3 separate regions of the Homo sapiens genome follow, and regions 1 and 3 are each linked to region 2. The links are contacts of gene promoters, found by promoter capture Hi-C in blood cells and fetal thymus (Javierre and others, 2016). All regions are on one chromosome and are shown on one strand. The core of a region is centred on a gene start or on the middle of the fragment in contact, and the rest is flanking DNA. Distances in the headings are between cores, read along the strand shown. Region 1 has its middle 68 kb from the start of LY96. Region 2 holds the start of JPH1 (junctophilin 1). Region 3 overlaps ELOC (elongin C).

The links. The method cuts DNA at HindIII sites, captures the fragments that hold promoters and counts their contacts. A CHiCAGO score of 5 or more calls a contact.
Region 1: a fragment that was not itself captured here is called in contact with the fragment with the promoter of JPH1 in region 2 in 1 of 17 cell types (fetal thymus); the score reaches 5.6 in fetal thymus.
Region 3: a contact is called between a fragment that was not itself captured here and the fragment with the promoter of JPH1 in region 2, in 1 of 17 cell types (fetal thymus). The highest score is 5.4, in fetal thymus.

Annotation. Positions count from the first base shown.
Region 1 is chr8:74,057,916-74,061,119 of GRCh38, reverse strand. It overlaps a transcript of LY96 not described here. Among named protein-coding and RNA genes, the nearest start is that of LY96, 68 kb to the right of the region's middle. The HindIII fragment of the contact is 7,541 bases long and covers 1-3,204 here.
Region 2 is chr8:74,319,640-74,322,973 of GRCh38, reverse strand. JPH1 (junctophilin 1) reads left to right here and starts at 1,434. Exons shown (of 6, transcript NM_020647.4): 1 at 1,434-2,065. The coding sequence starts at 1,687. RefSeq lists a silencer at 1,284-1,383 and an enhancer at 1,477-2,367. The HindIII fragment of the contact is 5,373 bases long and covers 1-3,307 here.
Region 3 is chr8:73,961,268-73,964,736 of GRCh38, reverse strand. All of the region lies in intron 1 of ELOC (elongin C), which reads left to right. Among named protein-coding and RNA genes, the nearest start is that of ELOC, 9.2 kb to the left of the region's middle. The HindIII fragment of the contact is 886 bases long and covers 1,248-2,133 here.

The DNA of each region.
Region 1 (3,204 bases), core at 696-3,195, 260 kb after region 2:
AGAGAAGGGAGCAGGCCAGATCCTCAAAGGGCTTGATTTGGCATGCCAAGGAATTTGGCCTTCATCCTATAAGCAGTAGAAAAATTACATAGCATTATACCTGTGAACACAAACAGAGGTTCCATTCTCCAGGACACGAAGGTATAGAAATGCTCAACATTTTGTCATTGTTGAATAGGGATGGTATTTTTGATAGCAAATAACAAAGCTCAGAACCTGCTACGGCAAAACCGGAAAACTGGATTACCAGAAAGAGGTTTGGAAGGACCACGTGGGCCTGGAATTACCCCAAGTGTTAAATAAATAGATCAGTTTACTTCTCCTGAGGAAACATAATCTCCTAGGATACAGGAGAAAACTTGAGGGCAAGGAGTGACCAGACTACCCCTCAGCTTACTACCTGAAATGAATTTGGTTGTGAGTTCCAACATCCACCCTCTAGATTTGCACAGCAAAGAGAGGGCTATGCCTGTGCAGTACGCAAGGGTCAAGGAGGGACTCAGGTTTATTCATTTACTCCATCAGTCTTTCGACATATATTTATCGAACACCTATTATGTGCAAGAAGCTGAGACTCAAAAGTGGAGAGAAAAAACACCTCAGATTTGTTTCCTCCTCTCTAGGAGTTCACTGTCTAGGTGTTCAACAAGGAAAAATGATTTAAGAGTGAAAAGTATTGTGATATAATTACCCCGACTGAAAGTCAGGGTTCCGATAGGTAGTGAATTTTAAGCCAAGACCTGAAGGCTAAGAATGGCCTATTGCCTATCCCATTAGATTTTTTTAACTTTGCTAATTGATTTATAAAATTTTAAGAAAACATTTTCTGGATATCAATTGTTTGTTATAACTGAAAACACCTCTCAGACAGACACTTAACTTTTATCTTTGTTAATGGTATTTTTTTCTTTTGACAATAAGAGTTGGAAGTTTTTCGTTGTCGTCGTCGTCGTCGTCGTCGTTGTTGTTGTTTGAAACAAGGTCTGGCTCTCCCTCCCAGGGTAGAGTGCAGTGGCATGATCCTGGCTCACTGCAACCTCTGCCTCCTGGGCTCACCTCAGCCCCCTGGGCTCTCACCTCAGCCCCCTGAGTAGCTGGGACCACTCGTGCACACCACCACGCACAGCTAATTTTTGTATTTTTAGTAGAGACAAGGTTTCACCACGTTGCCCAGGCTGGTCTCAAATTCCTGAGCTCAAGTGCTACCACCTACCTCAGCCTCCCAAAGTGCTGGGATTACAGGCCTGAGCCACTGCGCCCAAGCAAAGTTTGAAGTTTTGGATGTAACAAAATTTATCTCTTTTTTTATTTCATACTTTTGTTGTTTGTGTCTTGTTTGCCTAATATTTTGCCCTGAGATCATAAAGCTGTTCTCCTAATAGTTTTAAGTAGATTTTCTTATAATAGTTTTGAAGTTTTGCTTTTCACATTTAGACCTGTAATCCATTTGAAATTTAACTTTTTTGGAAATTTAACTACTCAAAAATGTGAATTAGACATTTCATTTTATTTTTTTTCCATAAGGAAGGTGAATTTTGGCAATGCCATTTATTGAATTTACCCTTTTCCAACGGGTATATGGAAAGTCCCTATAAATATAATCTGTTCCCAGATCTAATTATCTATTCTGTGTCAGTAGTACAGTTTTATTTATACAACTTTTTAAAAATGTCTTTATATCTGATAGAGAAATCCCCACCTCCTGCTTCTTTTTTAGAATGTCTTGGCTAGAAGTTCTTAGAATCTGTTTGTTAAGTTCCACACAATAATGTTGGGATTTTTATTAGAACTGCATTAAATTCATAATTTAATTTATGGAGAATTCACATCTTTCTATCAAGCATTTGCTTCCATAAATATGTTAGATTTCTTCATTTCTTCAGCTGTTCTTTCGTGTCCTTTGTGATAGTTAATTTTATGTACCAATTTGCCTGGGCCACAGTATGCTCAGATATCTGATTAAACACTATTGCTGGGTGTGTCTATGAGGGTGTTTCCAGAAGAGGTTAGTACTCGAATTGGTGGACTGAGTAAAGATGATGGCCTTCCCCAATGTGGGTGGACATCATTCAATCCGTGGAAGGCCTAAATAGAACAAGAAGGTGGAGGAAGTTTGGATTATCCTCTCTCTGCTTGACTGCTTGAGCTGAAACATCAATTCCTGCCCTTGGCACTCCTGGTTCTCAGGCCTTGAACTACGTCACTGGCTTTTCCTAGGTCTCCAGCTTGCAGACAGCAAACTGTGGGACTTCTCATTCCGTATAATTGCATGAGCCAATATCTTATAATAAATCTCTTTCAGCCGGGCACAGTAGCTCATGCCTGTAATCCCAGGACTTTGGGAAGCTGAGGCGGGTGGATCTCCTGAGGTCAGGAGTTCAAGACCAGCCTGGCCAACATGATGAAACCCCATCTCTACTTAAAATACAAGAATTAGCCCAGCGTCATGGCACATGCCTTTAATCCCAGCTACTCTGGAGGCTGAGGCAGGAGAATCGCTAGAAACCAGGAGGTGGAGGTTGCAGTGAGCCGAGATTGCGCCACTGCCTTCCAGCTTGGGTGACAAAGCAAGACTCCATCCAAAAAAAAAAAAAAAGAAAAACTTTCTAGATAGATAGATAGGTGTAGATATGTAAGTATCCTTTTGCTTCTGTTTCTCTGGAGAACCCTGACTAATACATTCTCTAGTAAACTTAAATTTTTCTCCATAAAGGTTTTGCAGTGGATGATATTTTCAAAAGCTAAAGTTCATGAGTAGCAGAAAGTTTAGGTTTAAGGTAGAAATTAAAGTTATAATCCAGAAGTTTCCTCTGGATCAGCTTAATATAATTAAAACTATCATGAAGAAAATAAAATGGAAATGCATTTTAATAGACCACTCTGGAAGATAATGGGAATGTGTTCAGCATAATCTGTGTTGTAATATTTTAGTTTTTTTTTTTCACCCTTACAAGAAATCAAAAGAAAGTCTGTCCTAGTGTTTCTTGGAGCATCTATCTAATATGCTAGAGTCATAGGAGTCTCCCAGGCATATTTGTTCAAGCCTAGACCTGGAGAAGTATCCTCTTCAAACAGGACTACTAGCTGCCCTTAGGCTCACGAAGTATTGAAGGCCTAAGAAGGTAATCACGGCAGGCTGGATCCCAGAAAGTGAATGCATGCTTTCACCTCTAGCTGGAACCCTTTTCTACTCCACAGATGTTC
Region 2 (3,334 bases), core at 185-2,684:
TATCTATATCTGATTATCAAATACTTAGTGAGAGAACCTTTGGCAGCTTCTGATGCTCGCATAGTCACCCAAAGGCCTCTCAGCCTAAGAAATAGCAGGAATACACTCCAAATCAGTTTCCTTGAGAGGCCAAACTAAGACCCTAGGCTGTGAAAGTGGGAGAAGTTTCTCCCGTGGGTATTTTGAGGGTGAGGTGGAGAATAATGCTTTCTCTCACCAGAGGCAATGCTGATCCAACTTGCCTATTACCAAATCTCTAATTTTTGGTTTGGCACTGCAGCCACAATATACTCAGTTATTACCGAATATAGAAAGAGAAAGGCAAATCTTGTTAGTCCCATTCAGAAGATGGTGAAATGGAGGTTTAAAAGTTTAGAAGAGTTGCCTAAAGTGAATTCGACAAAGCAGTGTTGTAGCTAGAAAGTAGACCAGCTGACATCTGTCCCTGGTTTTGTAGGTCACAGTTTCTTTGCAAGTTTAGAGCAGTGCTTTACTTACCATATTCCTCCTTGCAAACCTCTATTTACTTTCTTAAACAGTGGATACCAGTGGAGAGGTGTGCATTCCAGACACTTATACAATGTACACAGACCGAGCCGTCTACCTGTTGGGCACACAGCTCCAGGCTCAAGAATCTCTAAGGCTGTTAAGAAGCACAAACGAGGCACGAGAGGGGGCAGGCTCTAATGTAAAAGGAATATCCTGTACCACTGCAAAGGCCGATTGAAAACATCCTCTTCATCACTATTAATAAAAAACTAACCAATATATTCTGTGCTTTTTCAAACTGTACTGCTCACCCTCAGTGTCTTCATTAAATAAATGCAAACACGTGTGCTTTGAAACGGGTAGGTGTAAAAGAACACTCTGCACAATTATATCTAGGCTGCCGCAGATTTACATCACATGCATACATATATCTAGGCGATATTAATTCACGATGACAGCTGAGCATGACAAATGCAACAGTACACAAGTTGGAATGCGAAAACAATGCAACTACAAACCCCATGCAGACAAACACGCATACAATGAGTTTTCCCTCAACACACACGTGGCCGCACTCACAGGAGCTTAACCACTTTGAAAAACCCCAAACACAAACACCGGGGGCTCCGGCGCCCGCGAGCGGCCCCCACACAGGCAGCCGCGCCTTCATCTCCAGGCAGGGATTCTCGTGCGTCCCCGGGTACACTCGCCCTCCCACCGGCATCCCACTGCGCGAACACATGCGCGCCAGCCGGTCCCCGCGCGCGCCCGCCTGCCGAGGAAGCGGCGGCTCCCGGGGCTGGGGGCAGGGCCCGGTGGGGCGGGAGCGCCGCGGGGCCGGGCCTCGGCGCCCGGGGAGGGGACGAGGGGCGGGCGCGGGGCGGTGCCCGGCTCACGTGGGCGGGCGGGAGCAGCTGAAGGTCCGCTCGGGAACCTGGGCTGTCCTCTCGCGCGCGGCGCTGGCCCAGGCGGCGGCGGCGAAGGAGGAGGAGGAGGAGGAGGAAGGCGGCGGTGGCGGCGGCAAAAGAGGAGGGAGGACGGGGGCGGCGTCGGACTGGAGCCGAGCGGCAGCGCGAGCTGCCCAGGGCGCTGTCGTGAGCTCGCCCGCCGGGCCCCCACCCCCGAGCTACACCCTGCCGTGCCCAGCACTGCCCGCGTCCGTGCCCCTGCGGGGAGCGCGCCGGGGCTGCCCCCCGAATGACGGGCGGAAGGTTCGACTTCGACGATGGCGGCACCTACTGCGGCGGCTGGGAGGAGGGCAAGGCGCACGGGCATGGCATCTGCACGGGGCCCAAGGGCCAGGGCGAGTACTCGGGCTCCTGGTCGCACGGCTTCGAGGTGGTCGGAGGCTACACCTGGCCCAGCGGCAACACCTACCAGGGCTACTGGGCGCAGGGCAAGCGGCACGGGCTGGGGGTGGAGACGAAGGGCAAGTGGATGTACCGGGGGGAGTGGTCACATGGTTTCAAGGGGCGCTACGGGGTCCGGCAGAGCCTGTGCACCCCCGCTCGCTACGAGGGTACCTGGAGTAACGGGCTGCAAGACGGGTACGGCGTGGAGACCTACGGGGACGGAGGTGAGCGGCGTAACGGGCGGCTCGGCTGCTCCGCGAGCTGGTGCGGTGGGCTCTGCCCCGGCTGCGGGGAAGCGGGGAGGACGCCGGGCGCACGTGTCCGGAAACCCGCCAAAACACCTGGGGGCGCCTCCCACCCCCGCGCCCGCGCCCGCCTTTCCCAGAGAGGGCGCTGGGACCGGACTGGGGCGCGAGGGCTGGATCTGACCCCGTTCTTGGAGCGGGCCGTGTATCCACACTCAGGGGAGCTAGGCGTGAATGTACCTGGCCGGCGCCAGCGCTGCGCTGCCACCGGGAGGGAGCGCCGCCCGGGAGGGTTGGGCTGGAGAGAGGACGCTGTCACTTGAGCCCGTCACATTACGTTCCTGATCCCTCCCTCTCCCGGCCGGGTTTGAAATCGCCACTCCCGTGGAGTTAGAGCGAACACCCTGAGCGGGTGAGGTTGGCGGTCCGTGCTGACCGCTCCCGGGATTGGTTTCACGTGGAGTCGTATTTCGCTTCTGGTCCTCCAGTAGCCTAAAGATAGAAGCCAGAACCCCGTAACTAGGATGTTGGGGAATTGTACCTTATTTGGGGGTGCATTTGGAAACGTCCTAGTTATGGGAGCAGAAAGGCCACCTGATGCAGGTGGAGTTCAGAGTGTGTGAGTTCCTAGTTTTCATTCCGTTTCTTAAAGTATTGGTCTTAAAAGAGTAGCAGTCTTTGCTGACCTGGAGATCTTGGACAAATTACTAGGAAGATATTTTAGAAATGGGTAATGAAGTCTACATTTTAAAGAATACAATTAGCAGGTGTGTTCCTATAGCTGCTAAGTTAGCAGCTACTACTCCTGAGAATGGCAATACTGAAACAATAATTTGCATTATGTGTGACCTAAGCCAGTATTCCTGGCTGTGAACAAAGATCACCTTATTTTAATATTTAACAATATTTGCCAAAGAGATTGTGTATATACCAGGACAGAAGTTCCTCTTTTATTAGGAAAAGTATACATTATTGAAACAGGTGTCAAAACCTGATGAATTTCCTTGTGTAATACGCTGAGAAAGATATTCATGAATAGCTTATGCTTTAGCAAAGTGCATTTCCTGATAAACATAATCATATTTAGTTGAAAAGGGTTGTAGGAGGCGACATCACTTTTTGGAATTAAGCAGCTCAGAGTTGGAGGATATTAAAGGGATGCAATTAAAAGTTTCTCCAGCCCACTGCAACCCCATTTATACCATTGCTTATATAAAAGCTTACACAATTTGTACACTTCACTTAGTC
Region 3 (3,469 bases), core at 441-2,940, 360 kb after region 2:
ATTTGATGAACAGAAGTTTTGTTTTGGAGAAATGCAGTTCATCAAGTTTTTCATTTACAATTTGTGCTTTTTGCATCTTTTCTGAGATTTTTGTTTTGTTTTTTGAGACAGAGTCTTGCTGTGTGGCCCAGGCTGGAGTGCCCGGCTGGTCTCAAATTCCTGACCTCAAGTGATCTCCCTCCCAAAGTGTTGCGATTGCAGGTGTGAGCCACTGCACCTGGCTGCTGAGAAATCTTTGCCTACAGTGAGGGTATGAAAATAATTTGTTTTCTTCTAGTAGCCTTATTTTGCATTTTAAGTTGAATTCTGTGAACCATCTGAAATTGATTTTTGTGTATGGTTTAACAGTGAGCTTCTTATCCATATGGATATTGTTCCAGCTTCCTTTGTTGAAGAGACTGTCCTTTCTCACCATACGCTTTGACCTTTGACTCACTTTTCCATATAAGGATTCAGGAAATCTGTGCTTATCTTTTTTTTTTTTTTTTTTGGCCATTTATAAGTTGATATGAAACAACTGTAGCCCACCAAAATATAAACTACAGAGAACCATCATTCACTATCCAGGGACCACTTAACATACTGTGATTACCTGTTGCAATCCACACTACTATATGTAATACTTTTTTTTTTTTTTTTTTTTGAGACGGAATTTCACTCTTATCGCCCAGGCTGGAGTGCAGTGGCGCAGTCTTGGCTCACTGCAACCTCCGCCTCCTGGGTTCAAGCCATTCTCCTGCCTCAGCCTCCCGAGTAGCTGGGATTACAGGCACCCACTACTACACCCAGCTAATTATTGTATTTTTCGTGGAGACGGGGTTTCACCATGTTGGTCAGGCTAGTCTCGAACTCCTGACCTCAGGTGATCCACCCCCTTCGGCCTCCCAAAGTGCTGGGATTATAGGCGTGAGCCATCACACCCAGCCCCATCAAGCATTTTTATACCTGTCTAAGCTAGTTGTATTCTTTTTTCTGCTATTTTTCCAGAGTTCATGGATTTTTATGGATATTTTACATTTGGCTCTTTAATCTGTAGTGTATTTTTGTGAGTGATCTGTTCTAACCTTATTTTATCCAAGTAAATAGCCAATGTAAAAAGACAAAAAGATATGAAGAACAGATTTTGCAGCAGTGTCTGTTATCTACTTAGGTAATTCAAGTAAGTCAACTGAAAAACTATTAAAACTTATATGAGTTCTGCAAAAAAAATGACGGGATGCAAAATCAACTTAGGACATTTTAAAGCTTTTAACAACACGAGCAATAGCCTTTCAGAAAATATCATAGTAAAACAGACCCCATTCATAATGGAAACTTAAAAGTACCTAAAAGTAGACCTAACAAGAAACATGTGAGAACAAAATGGAGACTTACCCAACTATTCCTGTACAGAATATAGTCTAGAATTTCATGTAGCAATATAGAATATGATAAAGGTAATATTTCAAATCAAAGGATAAGCTATTCAAATATCTTATAAATATTCACTGATACTAGATTCAACACTTAATTTCAGTGTAGGCCCTAGGCTCACCTAGATTTTTTAAGTATTTGTTATTAAACACAAACATACACAAAAAAACTTTAAGAGATTAATATTTATATGTAACACCTTAAAAGCATAATGACGTCTCAGGCCATTGTTCATGCTCTTTCTTCTGCCTAGAACTATTCTCAATCCAGCGGTTCCCCTACGAGTGGCTTTTACCTGCCCAATTCATATTTCCAGAATTCAGCTCTGTGATGGAATACATGTTCAAGCTGAAATTTTTGTCTCCTCAAACTTATATTTCTTTAGATAACTTATGGATTGGGTCCAAACTGAATCATATTTTAAATATTTCTAACTTCTACCTAAGAATTAGGAATTTTAACTCTTAATGTTGATTTTCCCTTTCAAAGGTGGGAGAAAGGGTGGGTCTCCTCTTCTCTCCTTAATCTCTGTTGTATAAAATGATGGAATTGATTTACTACATTAACTCTGTAGAGAAACTGTTGCTACCCAAAGGGCTCCTAAGATGTGACTTTGCATTGTTGCTTAGCTACTGCTAGTTAGATAAACATCCTAAATGTTTTATTCTAGGGATTTTCCAGATAAAAGAGTTGGCCCTTGAAATTCTTGTACTTCAAGCTTTCTCGCATTTGTTTTGTTTTTTTTTTTGTTTTGTTTTTTAAAAGAGTATTTACAAAGCAGTATAATGAAAAGAAAATAATAATGGCTCTCATGAATTTTTAAATTGCGTAGTATCATAAAATGACAGTACTATTTTTAAATTTTAGAGAACTATTTGAGGATTTACATCAGTAGCTGTTGGGAATTGTGGCAATTAAGTTTAACTGGAGCCAGAATTTTTTACTGTGGTAGTAGGCAATAATGGAAGGAGTGGAATGTGGGCTGTGAAGTCAGACCTACCTAGGTTTAAATCCTAACGCTGCCACTTAAGCTGTAGAAGCCTTCAACAAGTAGCAGACTCTTCCAGTGTTTCTCATCTCTAAAATCAGAATAATTCCCTTGTGGAAGAGTTGTTTTTAAATAAGATAGGCCAGGCACAGTGGCTCACACCTGTACTCCCAGCACTTTGGGAGGCTGAGTTGGGTGGATCACTTGAGGTCAGGAGCTCAAGACCAGCCTGGCCAACATGGTGAAACCCCGTCTCTACTGAAAATACAAAAATTAGCTGGACATGGTCCCATGCACCTGTAGTCCCAGCTACTCGGGAGGCTGAGGCACAAGAATCGTTTGAACCTGGAAGGCAGAGGTTGCAGTGAGCCAAGATCACGCCACTGCACTCCAGCCTGGGCCAAAGAGTGAGACTCTGTCTCAAAAAATAAATAAACAAGATAATGTATGTAAGGCATTTAGTACAGTGTTTACCGCTTCTTAGGCCTGCAAAAGGCTCATCAGATTTAATTGTTAGTGCTGCCTATTTTCTCTGCTTTATCTCAAATTAGAAATGGTACTTTGGGAGGCTGAGGCAAGTGGATCACCTGAGGTCAGGAGTTCGAGACCAGCCTGGCCAACATGGCGAAACCTGGTCTCTACTAAAATACAAAAATTAGCCAGGCACGGTGACAGACGCCTGTAATCCCAGCTACTGGGGAGGCTGAGGCGGGCAAATCATTTGAACCTGGGAGGCAGAGGTTGCTGTGAGCTGAGATCGTGCTTCTGCACTCCAGCCTGGGCAATAGAGCAAGACTGCCTCTCAAAAAAAAAAAAAGAGAGAGTGATGGTACTTTGAATATCTGTCTCCATGCCTAGCAAGTGTTCTAGACTAAGATTTGATTTCTGCTCCTGCTCTGTCGCTACCTGAAACAAATTATTTATCCTCTCTACATGGATGACATTATTTAAACCTGAGGCATTAGAGAGGTTACTTGCAAGTTCCTTTTCTGCGTTGAAGTGTTATGGTTCATTTTCTTGACCCTTCTCTTAAGGCCAGAACTAAAATTTGTCAGGAATTTCTTAGAG